Regions from separate parts of the Homo sapiens genome. Here regions 2, 3 and 4 are each linked to region 1. Evidence: promoter capture Hi-C in 16 types of primary human blood cells and fetal thymus (Javierre and others, 2016). All regions are on one chromosome and are shown on one strand. The core of a region is centred on a gene start or on the middle of the fragment in contact, and the rest is flanking DNA. Distances in the headings are between cores, read along the strand shown.

Region 1 (3,144 bases), core at 131-2,630:
CACCACTTCACTGAACACCTGGCTTCTATATTCCTCTAAAATACAGATGTACAGTTGCTTTTTCTGGCATCTTGGGCAAGGTCCCACAACACTTTTAGGGAAACCAAGATTGTCTATTTTGATAACTACTTTTGCCAAAATAGTTCATTCTTCTCAAGCCTGGTTGAGGGGGTGGAGGGGACCTTTAGAAGTCATATGGGCATAGCAGGTGGGGGAAAACTGACAAAAGACCAGGGCGAAAATCATCCTCTGTGCCCCTGAAGATCTTAGTTGAAAATGCTCTACTAACATCTCTCACCAGCAAAAAGCCTGGAACACAGTATTTTTCACTTAGAAACTAAGATCACTACCTCTGATTTTGAGAGAGCAGCCCCTGGGCACTACCTGAGCAGGTAAGGGAGACCACTGCTCTAATGCTCATAACAGCTCTGAGATTTAATGAATCACAGACCCATCATCTCTTTCTAGGGCAACGTATTTTATTTTTGAGAAACAAAGTAAAGGAGGCTTCCCTTACAAATGCTGGATTTCTGACAGCTAGTTTTCAGACTTTTCTTTCGCAAGTTGATATCTAGTAACTCAGGATCACTGCCTGAAAATCGCTTCCAAAGGGTTCAAATTTGAATCAATGTAGAGGAGGTGGCACACAGCTGCTTGCTTTCATTAACTCTTACCTCTACCAGAAACCAAGCAGCTATGATGCCCAATCACAATTTCTATGACCACTTTCTTATCTTGTCAACTCTCTGAGAGTTCTGAGTAGCATTTCTCATTTCTTGCTTTTCAGTACCCACCCCTCGAACATACTTCCTCAGTGTACCTCAGCCTCCCATCAAGCAAAAAATCAAAATTCCAGTTTATGGCAAGAGCAGAATAAATGCAGCAGTCTCCTCTTCTCCATCATTTTCTGACTTTTCCCAAGTTATCGTACCAGCACAATGCCTTCTACTCCCAAATCACAGCAAGATATTAATAACCCTTAGTAGAAAGATTCCTTATTAGGTCACACAGAGTCATTATGGCTTAATAGCTGTCACCCTCCCAAGCTAACCTGTGCAACAGGTGTGGAAAGTAAACTTAGAGGCTCACTTGGCAACCCCACAAATAGGGCTTCACAGCTCTCCCCCCAATGCTCCCAATGGCCTCTGGTCCCCAGCATATGAGCCCCTGCCCCTGTAGACCTAGGGAGAAGCCCTTCTCAGCTCAGCTCACCTGTTTGTAGGCATCGAGGAGGAAGCTCTTCCAGACGCAGCGCAGTCCCTCTGAGGTCAGCATGCGCCGCCACTCTCCGCGAGTGGACTTGGAGCGGCTCAACAGCAGCACCACGTGCTTGAGCAGAATGACCGAGTCATAGAGAGCCAGGAAGAGGCAGTTGGAGAAAAAAACTGGCAGAATTTGCAGTGTGATCAGCAAGTCTACGCTGAGGATGCCCATCTTCTCTGCCTCCTGAGTCAGTTCCCTTGTGCGCTCTGGTTCCCCTTCACCCTCTTATTTAAAAGGGGGGTGGTGATAAAGGGGGTGGGGGAGGTAAGGGGGAAGGTTGGGGGTTGGGGGAGAAGGGGAAAAAAAACTAAATTAAAAGGAAGCCCAAGTTGTCTCCTCTTTCAAAGAAGCAGAAATGGCAAGACTAAGTCCAGTCTCTCCAGCCCAGCAGTTGGAGTGTGCCCATCAATTCATTCAATTCGGAGCTGCTGCCTTTTTTTTTTTTTTTTTTTTTTTTTCAGGATTTAAGATGTTAAAAAAAAAAAAAAAAAAAAAAAAAAAAAGCTGGCGTACTCGTCCCTAATCCAGTTACCTCTGTCAGAGTCCGTTAAAGACAGGCAGTTCTACTTTCATTTCCAAGCACCTATGAGACTGTGGCAGAGATTTTAAAATTTTCTTTAGCCTTTCATTGTCTCTATGCTCTTTAAACGTAGCCTGTTTCTTTCTTGAATTGCCAGAGTTTTTTTTTTTTTTAAATGTGCTTTAAGGGTAGTTTTTTTTTTTTCTTTCTTTACTCCGTTTTACACACACTTTCTGTGCTTCTCTTTCTCCCAGTCTCACTCTCTCCCTTCCCCAGGAGCGACTGACTCCTCTTTTTTCTCACTCTCTGTCTTTCCCTTCTTGCTATCTGTCTGTGGTGCAAAGTGCCTCTCTCTGCAGCCCAGTGAGTCTCCCTGACGCCTTTTATACATTCCCTGGCTAATTGCTGCAATAGAGAAGTGAAAGCCTAATCTTGGTAAAGATCTTGACGTCATTGAGAAAGAGGGCTTTACTTTGGCCAGGATTGCAGTGAATAGAAAAGCAAAACTCGACAACTTTTTTTTTTTAGAAGGGGTTGGGGAGAGACAGTGGAATTTTGCTTTGTGATTTAAAGAGAGAAAAAAACTAATACCCTTGACAGCCTTCAGGAAATGCTTCCAAACTTTGGGAAAAGTAATTTAATATAATGTGCAGATTGATATGGCCAACACTCTCTCTTCTGATTATCATTATCATTAATTTATGAGGGGTTTTGGAAAGAAAGGATCCTGGAAGGCAGGTAGAAAAAAGGAAGAGTTATCACAGGCGGTCTTTGCTCTGTTTCTTGGAAAATATGAACATTTATATACAATCTTTATACCTTTATACCATGACTCCAACCCTTTGTAAGATCTGTGACCTAGGTCCTTTAAATTTTTTTGAGTCATTATCTTATTTAAGAAAATGCAAAATGAGTTGTAGGTGGAAAACTTGTAAACTATTTGAGTACCATCCCAGCATTTCTTTAAAGCTTCTTGCAGAAACTTGAATACAGGTTTCTTTTTAGTTTTACCCAAGCTTCTAATGAAAAAAAAAAAAAAAATCCAAGTTCCTCCAGACAGGGAAGGAGCTAGGCGACATTCTTTTAGCTTCATTTTGCAGATAAAATTAAAACTTTCCATTGAATAGCATTAAGAAGCCATAAGGCTGAGAAATTATTAATGAAAGCTCTTTAAATTTGGTGTTTCACCTGCTTCTGTTAGCATAACCCCTAAGAGACCTGATACTTTAAGGAATCTTCCTTTTTGTTTGAAAAAAATTTTAATTAAATGTATGGGAAGTTAAGAGCCGACTGAATTGGTTCAAGGTGCCACATTGACCATTGTTCATTGGCTTGCCTCTCCCATGAGTCTTTAGGACAGG
Region 2 (3,325 bases), core at 215-2,714, 1.2 Mb before region 1:
GGCTTGATCTCGGCTCACTGCAAACTCCACCTCCTGGGCTCAAGTGATCCTCTCACCTCAGCCTCCCGAGTAGCTGGGACTACAGGCACATGCCACCATGTCCAGCTACTTTGGCATTTTTGGTAGAGATGAGTTTCACCATATTGCCCAGGCAGGTCTCAAACTCTTGGATGCAAGTGATGTGCCTGCCTTGGCCTCCCAAAGTGCTGGGATTACAGGTGTGAGCTACTCCACCCAGCCAATAGTGTTTGTAATTTCTGATGACAAATATTTCATGCTAAATAAGTAGCCGACCAGGAATGAACAAGTAATTACCAACAGTGGGGCACACTGTTGTTTGATGGTATATGTTTTCCTAACATGAACAAACTCCCTTACAACTTCAACATCTGTGCCTTAACTAAAATCTGGACATGCTGCATTGAGAGAGCATCTCTTGGAAGTCTCCTTTAGTGAAGGATGCTTTTTTCCTAATGTTTTAAATTCCTGGAGTCAGACCTTGATTCTACAATCATTCTTCAGTGATGTTTCTTCTTTTAAGGTCACGTATTTTTTATATGCTGTCGCCCCGTCCTCATCATTAGCATTTATTGACCTTCAGGATGTAAAAAATACTCTGAGTTCTTCCCTTGTAGCCTTCTTCTCACTCCATCCTTTGCATTGTCCTTGGTGACTTAAGTTTTCATGTTGTATTTTTTCCTAATAACCTGATTTCCTCAAATACCTGGCCACGTAGCAAAGGGAGTTTCTATTGCTGGTACTGCTTCCTAAGTTTTCAGTTCTCCCATACCTTAAACCTCCTGACACTACTTTCTGTGTCAATAATCTCAAATGTTTCACTAGCCTCCATGTGGCAGTTGGAGTTTCTAGTCTAGAATACAAATGGTATTCCCACTAATACGCAGGAGCTCTTGCCTCATGACTTGATACACTATCCAAATTCCAAAGACATTCCCTTGCTCGGTTTCTTGGCCCCTGCCTTACAGCTAGAAAAAGTCATGTACTTGGCAATTACTTCCTGTAAATCCATATCCTCTTACCTTAGCAATGCCCTCAGTATGTTCTTTTTTGTGGCCATCTAAGCTTTGTCCCTAAATTGTGACCATTTTCTTTTCTACTCAATAATATCTCATTTTCTACGTTGGTAGTTAGTACTTACTCAGTAGAAGTTATCTGATGAGAGTCTTTCTTCATATTTCTTTGTGTCAAAATGCATTTTTATGTTTAAACATCTCAAACCTCCCTGGCAATTAAGACATTTTGGGACTTTTCTCCAAACATAACATTCCATTTAAGTCTGGGACTCACTTTCATAAACCCATGCACCTGTGGGAAAACTCTCTTCCCCAACGTGCCCTAAACTTTATTGATTTGGGCTTACCTTCCTTACCTTGTTCATCTAGATATGTTCAATGGGCCTTGTACTGAATATTTGTGTGGTGTTTACATGTTTATACATGTTTACCTGTGTGTGACTTTTTTTTTCTAATTTGAACCAGGACTATGTGATTATTTTACTTGTACATTTCTTAGAACAGTGTCGGTCCTCAAAAAAAACGAGTGGGTTTCTTACTCTCTTTCCTTTCTTTCACTAAATATTTCATCATTGTAGCACTGATCTTACACATATTTGTTAATTTTTCTGGCTCATTGTCAACTGTGAGTTCTACAGGGTAGGTACAATGCCTCGTTTATTTTTATATTCCCGGTCTCTGTATCAAACCTACATAGGATTTGCAGGAAATGAGCCACTGGGAGTTTTTGAGCAAGTGTGTGATATGCCCAAAGATATGCCTTAGAAAGATTCCTCCTGGCAGAGTGTGAGAAGCAGGTTGAGAGAAAATAGTAAGCTTTGTTGAGAGAAGATTGTAAGCCTTTCTGAGAGCAGACAACACGTGGCTGCATAAACAGACCCTAGTGCAATGTCTGATATATAGTGCAGATTCAATGAATATTTTGGGGAAGAATGAGCAAAATCAAGAAAGCTATTAGGAGGCTCTTGAAAATAGGTGTGGTAAATGGCAAAAAACAAACAAACAAACAAACAAACAAAAACCCCAAAAGCATGAACTAAAGTGTCAGTACTGGTAATTTTAGGGTTAGCCTCAACTTTAAAAATAGAATATAAGCTGCTACATACACATGGGCACAGCCAATTATAGTAGTCAAAGTATAGTAGTCAAAGAACTGGTGAAATGGCAAACATTTAAGAAATTTACTCCATTTTTAACTTTATAAGATTTGATTATTATTCCTTTATAGCCTTAGCTTTTTTTTTGTTTTTACAATTAAAGATGTTTTTAAGTTAAAATAATCCACTTATATTAGAGCCTCTTTTTCTATTATCCAGACAGCACATATTATTCTATCCATTAAAAAATGTGACCATTAAAAATGGCTAGAATAGCTTAATAATATAATATCATATTTATTCTATGATTTCCAGTGGAATGAACTGTTATGGTCTCCCTGATTGATTATAATTTTAATAAACTTGGTTGTGTGTGGCTAGGAACAAGTTCATTCCAAGTTCATTTTTTCCCTGATGTAGATAAAATTCCATCAGCTAAGTTCTGCTACTGTGCCCCATCTCCAGACTTCTAGCTAAATGAAGTACTACAGGGCTCTGATTCTTGCTCAAACTCACTACTGCTAAACTGAAATGCTTGAGGTATTCAAAACTGTTATTTTCTGCGTCAATTTGATATATGTGCAGCATTTCTTTTTTAAAAGGACATGTTCTGAATGTTTAGAGTGTGTAGATAACCACTCCCACCCCCCAACACACTCACGTAACAGAAGAAACTTTGGATACTTTTATTGTGTAAACTTACAGAATTTGTGTCAAAGAAGTTCATGTGGCAAAGACATCAGGTGTATCAAATATTTTGGTGGTTTTGTTTAAATTCAGAGTGAGAATTAACCAAGCATCTACAATACGTACACCTGCTCTGTATTCTAACCCTTTTGTTCATGGCATGCACATTAAAACACGTAGCTCCACTTCGCTGCATTGTTGATTGCAGTTGATGATGAGGGTTGTCGTTTCTGTCAACTTTTAGTATTGAAGAGAAGCCTCATGTGTAGTGATGTTAGGGACAGTTCAGCCATGTTACATACCTAGAATTGTCTCTGAAAAAAAAAAGTCATGAACTTTTTTTTTTTAAAGGCAATAGAAAGCAATCAACCAACCAAACAAACAAACAAAAAAAAACAAAAAGTCTGGGCGTGGTGGCTCACACCTGCAATTCCAGCACTTTGGGAGGCCAAGGCAGGCAGATCACACGGTCAGGAGATCGAGACCATCCTGGCTAACACGGTGAAA
Region 3 (3,433 bases), core at 480-2,979, 1.2 Mb before region 1:
CTGAAGTTTAAGAGACCTAAGAAAATACAATCCTCCCTTTTTTTGTCACTGTAATTCTGAGCCAATAGAGAAAATATTGCAATGAGGATGGAAGGCAAATATCATTTTAATTAGTAATAACACACAATAATATTGCTTACACCCACTGAACTTCAGAATTAGACAGAACTGCCCACTTGAATAGTAGTTCAGAACTGGGCAGACATCCTTTGTGGAAGCAAGGCTTGCTCCTGTAACACCCATTCTATGGATGCATGCAGTAGAATGGACATTTCTGAAGGCAGCTTGCTCCAGCAAAGAGAAACAGGAGGTGTTAGGGGCTGAGCTAAGCATACACAGCTTCTCTTTGCAGATCATCCTTAATATTTCTGATTATGTCACTTCTTCAGGAAAGTTGTTAAAGAGGAAATAAAGAGATGCTATCAGTCTTGCTAATGGAGTTTTTTCAATGTAGAAGGTAACAAGAGAGGACAGGAAGAAAGAATTCCCCCTCTAATGCTTGGCAGTAGAACATGGTTTGTTATGTTTTAACATGATTTTTCTATATAAATGTTGAGGAAGCCAATTTCTACTCTGGCCACATTAATGATGTTTTTCTTTATTTTGTTATTAAAATTTCCAGTCTCTTTGTATTTTTTTTTCAAGCCCTCCTTATCCCCTCTGCCCTAGTCACTCACCACTTCTAGGTAAAATAGGTAATACAAGTTCTAAATAGTTCATTTGTAACAGCTGAAGATATTTCCGTTGTGAATGTCAGAAACCCAACTCAAACGCTTTAAGCATGAAAGGGAGTCTATTGCCACACAGTTTGAAAAAGCCGGGAGGTGCCTGGCTTGATCCAGAGTCTCAAAGGACAGCACAGATGATTCTCTTCATTTGGTAATTGTCTTCTGGGTTGCTAGTCCTCTGATCCCTCTGATTTTCTTATAGCCTCTAGGGACTCAAAGCTTTCTTCTTACCCCTCCAGCAGTCCTTGCTTGCAAAGAATCCTCTTTCCTAAGTGTACCAGCAAGAGCTCTGGAACTGAGTGTGGCCGGGATGGCTTGGGTTGTTGCCAGTTCTAAGGGTGGTCCCTAAATCAGCCACAAGAGCATCACTGTGAAACTTGTTAGAAATGCAGATTCTCAGGCCTCACCCCAGACTTTTGAATTCTAAACTCTGAGGGCCTAAGCCCCCCAGGTGATTCTGATACACCCTAAAGTGTAATGACCGCTTTTTAAGTCTGTAGTCCAAAGTCTGTGACAGTTAGGGGGGTAAAGTACATTGAGTGGTCTAGGCTGAGTAGCTTGATTAGGGTCAACTTTATCCAGTCCAGGTGGTTGAAAGGTCAAGAGGGGTGGGTAGCTTCCTAAAGAAAAATTACGTGTTATTATAAGATAAAGTAACAGTTGCTGGGCAGGTAAACTCAACTGATAAGTCTATAATAGAATCCTTCCCACGAGTACTAAGTGGAGAGTTATTACGAGAAAAAATACTTGGTAGTGATGCCCAAGACTTGTGTGTTGTGTCTTTACAAGGGTCAGAGCAACAAAGGCCTTTCTTCTTATAGTGTGTATTAGTGTCCAGTGATTCTCCTGAATGGAGAATATCAATAGTTTTATCCTTTAGCCTGGGTTACTCATGACCTCATATTTCCCCTTATATGATGAGCCGTGCTGAGCAGCTGCGTGACAGCATGTAATTTGGGCAATGCCTGATTGAGGCCAAGTAAGGTATCTACCATATTGAATATTTGGTTTTCTTGAACTCACCCAAGAAAGCTGAATATTCTGTGTGGAAACAGGTTACACCCAAAAAATATACTTGAGGGTGCTGTGATAAATGATGGTAACTTTTCTGTTTGTACCTCATTTACAATTTTCACAGGTACAATGGTGGGAGACCATACCCGTTTGGAGTTCCACAACATTGAAACGGGAATCATGACTGAGAAACGCTACATCTCCGTTGTCCCCTCCAGCTTTATTGGCCATCTGCAGAGCCTCATGTTTAATGGCCTTCTCTACATTGACTTGTGCAAAAATGGTGACATTGATTATTGTGAGCTGAAGGCTCGTTTTGGACTGAGGAACATCATCGCTGACCCTGTCACCTTTAAGACCAAGAGCAGCTACCTGAGCCTTGCCACTCTTCAGGCTTACACCTCCATGCACCTCTTCTTCCAGTTCAAGACCACCTCACCAGATGGCTTCATTCTCTTCAATAGTGGTGATGGCAATGACTTCATTGCAGTCGAGCTTGTCAAGGGGTAAGTAGAAGGGATCACGACTTATGTTGGACACCTTTAATCTACTGAAGCTCTACGTAAAATATGGACATAAAAATAACTTGTCTATTCTACTCCCTACCCTCCATTCCTGACACATTCTCGCATCTTCCTTGATTAAATGGATCCATAAAATTATTAGGTCTGGAAAGGAGAGAGGCTCATGATTTAATTTAAAGGTCTTCCACTAACTCAACACTAACAGACTTTTTCCTATGAAATGTAGCCCTTTAAAACTATTGAAGAAAAGCTTATTTTTGCAAAAGAGGGCTATGATTTGTATTGCATCTAATTCTTGAGTATTACTAACTACAACCACCCAATTTATACCAAAAGATGAAACATAAATATTTTAAATCCTACCATTAGCCCATATATGCAAGTTTTTAGAAGCTGCCCTTTCCTCAAGACATTTTACTACCATGTATTAGAAAATAGTCAAAACAAAAAACCAAAACAAAAACCAAAACAGATTAATGGTTGATGATGAATTTAAAAGTCACCCCCTTATGTTTTGTAGTGTACAACCTGTGCTACTTTGACTCTGGAGAGTATTAGTAGGTAGTGTTAATGAAGTGGACTCGATGAGTATGGAATTATAGTGAAGCATGATAGAATAAAATCTGACTATTCTTGTAACCTCATATCAAGATTTAAATTATTCCTGCATTATGCCAGTTTAGCATGGGGGATTTGAAGCCCACTATGTCAGTTACACACATATAGCCATTAAACCACTTCGGGGATTTTCCAATTATTGTTTTTTTTTTTTTTTCTTCCTAGGTATATACACTACGTTTTTGACCTCGGAAACGGTCCCAATGTGATCAAAGGCAACAGTGACCGCCCCCTGAATGACAACCAGTGGCACAATGTCGTCATCACTCGGGACAATAGTAACACTCATAGCCTGAAAGTGGACACCAAAGTGGTCACTCAGGTTATCAATGGTGCCAAAAATCTGGATTTGAAAGGTAAACCTTGTAAAGAAATTTAGTTTTTAATAGAGCTTTTCTTACAATAGATAGACTATTTCCAGAGGCAAACCACAGGTTCAGAGTGCCATGCATTTTTGATACATCATCCATATCCTGTTTTAACAATGTTGAATTATCCTGTAATGCAATTTTTTCCGTTTTTACTTAGACTACTCATCAAGAAATGGTT
Region 4 (3,407 bases), core at 258-2,757, 1.3 Mb before region 1:
GACCAAGCTAAGATGTGAAATTATAAATTGTTTATTAAATCAATTTAAGGTACACTTTAAGCATAAATCAAGGGGAAAGTGATTGGTTCAATAAACACAGGAGAGTGTGCAAGTGGGATAGAAAGACTACCATATCTCAATCCTTGGTTACACAATGTTCATCTACCTTGGTTCCCTCTCTGCCATATTAGTCTTCCCTGCTGATGAAGTAGTTACAAGAACCAGAGTTGAGATTAAGAAAGGGATACAACAGCTGGGAAACACTGGTCCTGTTACACCATTGCCCTCCTGGGGAGACACAAGGGCAAGTATATCTGGCCATAGCTATCACTTGCCAATTAGCCTGGTGACTAGATATATGTTTTATCTCTATGTATCAACCAGAGCAAATGTGGGGCCAGAATGGGACCAAAATGGATGTCACCAATGGGTTGACCAGTTTAGGGATGAAGGAGTCAACAGAGATTGTCTGAGCTTCATAAATATTTAAGGTTTACTCTGTACTTTCATCCCTTTCTATGGGGAAGTAACTCTCTTATTTCATCCTTTTTATCTTTGTTCAGCACACACGTGCTCTTTTTATTTTCTCTATGTCTCACAGCTCTCAGAGATTATCAATTTGCTCCCTACGCTTTAATCCATTCTATAAGTTCCATCCAACTTTTTGTTGCTTGCTATGACAAAATCGAATAATCTTAAATAATGCAGCAAACACACGTTGCAGCCTGTTTAAGATATTTTAAGAGTTCTTTTTGATCTAGGAGATAAAACACAAAGTTTTCAGTACAGCAGGTTCTTGTAAGCAGGTTCTTAAAATCTCCTCCTGGCTACATCTTTAGACTCATTTCCTACCTCTCATAAAAATGCCCTCCACTACCCTACGACACGGAAGTACTCGACATTTGCTGAACTTGCATGCTCTCTTAATCTCTATACGTGGCAGTTTTTAAAATCTCTTGTCTACCTGGAGCACTAGTTCTGCACATTCATTAAAAAGCATAAGCTTTGCTTTCTCTAACAAGTATTACTTGAACACCACTATCTTCTTAACCCCAAACTCAGACCCAAATGTGCATGTATATATGCACACACACACTCCCAATAGCTTCTCTCTTTCCCTGTGTTCCTTAGGTATAATGCAAAGAACTCATAGTAGTATTAAAGCACTTAAAACATTGTATTACATTTTTATATCACTCTCTACTCCATTAGACTGTAAGTAACTTTGATCCAGGGATCAAAATATATTTCTCCTTTTATCTCCAGCCACTAGTCAATGTCCAGTGTGTTATAAATAAGCAGTAAATATTTGATGAGTTGTTGAGTTAATGAGTAATAACAAATAAATGTTATTGTACAACAAGTTGGCAGATATTTGTTCCTTGAATAGAATGATTTTTATAATTGTCATTTACAAATTCAGTTTAGATGGGATATTTTTCTCTTATTTCTTCCCTTGAACGTTTTCCCCCAACTACCGTGTACTCCCATTACTAGATTTTTTTATAAATCACTTAAATATGTTTTTGTAAATTATTAATAGCAGCAAGTAGTGCTGATCTGTTGGGCACCTAATGTGTATCAAGCTGTGAATTAGAACTTGTCTTCCACTGGTCCCAAGAGAGCTGGATCAGTTCACAACCCTGCATAAATGGTAGCTAGGATTATGATTCAGTAGGAGCATATGTAGCCTCAAGCAGGATAATTAGTTGTAATAAGCACATAACCACATTTTCTCCCTGTTTCTGTGTTAGGGGATGGCAGTCAATTCACACTTTGAATTTCAATGTCCATAAGCTGCATTTAAATACATTCATATAAATGCATGTCAAGTAACTACCATGTCTAGGCCTTGGACTAGATTCTGAAAAAAATAGGCACAATCACTGGCCTCGTGGAGTTCATAGCCAGCATCACCTTAAAATCAATGAGAAGTAGAAAGTCAGGTTATTGAGACCAGGATGATCTACGCTGCATCTAACTGGGGGATATTAAGTTCTCACAGACATTACAAGCTTATCCCAGTCAATATAAGCTCACTGTATAATCAACTACCTCCATATACAAATGTCCCCTCCTCCAGTGGCATGATCTAGGGCTGGCAGGGATTCACCTTTCCTTACCCGTGGTGCTTCTCAAAATTCCCCTGCTGCCTCACCCAGCCACCCCCATTCTCACCCAGTCTAAGTATCAGTTCCAAGAAGCATTTCTAGTTCCTCTACCCCTTTGTTTTCCGCAAACCTTCACATCTGCTCCCTCAGAAGCACCATTGGTTATGGAGGTCTGATCTGAAGTTCTACCCATCACTCACACATTCATCATCCATCCAGAAGGCAGTTTTATATAAACCCAGATAAGCTTGGCTTTGCATCTACTTAGTAGCTATTTACCCTTGGCTGAGATAACTTAACATCCCTGTTTCTTACTGCTGTCATCTGTAAAATGGGATAAAAATGCTTACTTCCCAGTATTCTGGGGATTAAATATTAAGCTCCAGTACAAAGTGTAACAATGACTTTATGCGTCATTATCCCCGCTGGTCTCCCATAGCTGTTCTCTAGCACCCCTGTGCCATCTTTGGGATTGTCGAGTTAGCCCTGAAGTGGCAAGGACCCTATTTCAGTGCTCATATTTAAAAAGCACCACCATCAGCAAAAGGGGTGTAGAGAGGAGGCACCATTTAGAATCTTGGAAAATCTGAAAAAACTTGCTTCTAGGCCAGAGAGTAGAGAGAACTGTGAGATTGTGTGCTAGCCACAGTAGACCAATGTTGGATTGGAGATGATAGGTCGTCTTAATGGAAAGTGTGATGGGGAGCCAATGTGGCACAGTAGCTCAGAGTGTGGGCTCTGGAGCCAACATAAGAAGAGTTACCCTAACAGAATATAGACCACAGAGTTCTTCCCTTCAAGTATGGATTCATCATACATCCTTCAAACCTGCCAAGTACTTCACTTTCTTTCTCTCTACCAACCTGCTTCTTACCAACCTTCTAAAGTCCTGTTCTTGATTCACCCTAGGCTCACCTATAACCTTCAGAAGCCCTGTCTCTGACTCTTAACTCTTCCTGTCTTAACACTGAGCCTCTACTTTCAGCTTTGGGAGCCACAATGAGTGTTTCAGAGCTGAAGAATATCTGGAGCCCATATGTCAGACATGAAAGATTTGGAAAAACAGAAATAAAAAAGTTCCTTGAAGTATTTGAAATGATTTATTCAAGTAGGGTTGGGACCTAAAAATTTGCCAAATATATCATAATGGGGGAGTAGTACCAGGAACGTAGAGAAAGGAAGAGAAAAATTGATCTCATAGAAATAAAACGTAGAACAGAGGATACTAGAGGCTGAAAACAGGAGGGGGAAAATGGGAGACACAGAGAGATTTGATAAAAGACACAAAATTACAGC

What was found. The method cuts DNA at HindIII sites, captures the fragments that hold promoters and counts their contacts. A CHiCAGO score of 5 or more calls a contact.
Region 2: a contact is called between a fragment that was not itself captured here and the fragment with the promoter of DIO2-AS1 in region 1, in 1 of 17 cell types (endothelial precursors). The highest score is 6.1, in endothelial precursors.
Region 3: a contact is called between a fragment that was not itself captured here and the fragment with the promoter of DIO2-AS1 in region 1, in 1 of 17 cell types (endothelial precursors). The highest score is 8.4, in endothelial precursors.
Region 4: a contact is called between a fragment that was not itself captured here and the fragment with the promoter of DIO2-AS1 in region 1, in 1 of 17 cell types (endothelial precursors). The highest score is 7.2, in endothelial precursors.

What each region holds. Positions count from the first base shown.
Region 1 is chr14:80,210,039-80,213,182 of GRCh38, forward strand. It overlaps DIO2-AS1 (DIO2 antisense RNA 1), which reads left to right and starts at 1,381. Exons shown (of 9, transcript NR_038355.1): 1 at 1,381-1,450. DIO2 (iodothyronine deiodinase 2) reads right to left here and starts at 1,466. Exons shown (of 2, transcript NM_013989.5): 1 at 1,213-1,466. The coding sequence starts at 1,434. The HindIII fragment of the contact is 6,513 bases long and covers 1-2,750 here.
Region 2 is chr14:79,004,304-79,007,628 of GRCh38, forward strand. All of the region lies in intron 15 of NRXN3 (neurexin 3), which reads left to right. Among named protein-coding and RNA genes, the nearest start is that of NRXN3-AS1, 70 kb to the right of the region's middle. The HindIII fragment of the contact is 767 bases long and covers 1,082-1,848 here.
Region 3 is chr14:78,964,159-78,967,591 of GRCh38, forward strand. It overlaps NRXN3 (neurexin 3), which reads left to right. Exons shown (of 21, transcript NM_001330195.2): 12 at 1,867-2,248; 13 at 3,050-3,240. Among named protein-coding and RNA genes, the nearest start is that of NRXN3-AS1, 110 kb to the right of the region's middle. The HindIII fragment of the contact is 1,569 bases long and covers 946-2,514 here.
Region 4 is chr14:78,939,270-78,942,676 of GRCh38, forward strand. All of the region lies in intron 10 of NRXN3 (neurexin 3), which reads left to right. Among named protein-coding and RNA genes, the nearest start is that of NRXN3-AS1, 130 kb to the right of the region's middle. The HindIII fragment of the contact is 1,012 bases long and covers 1,002-2,013 here.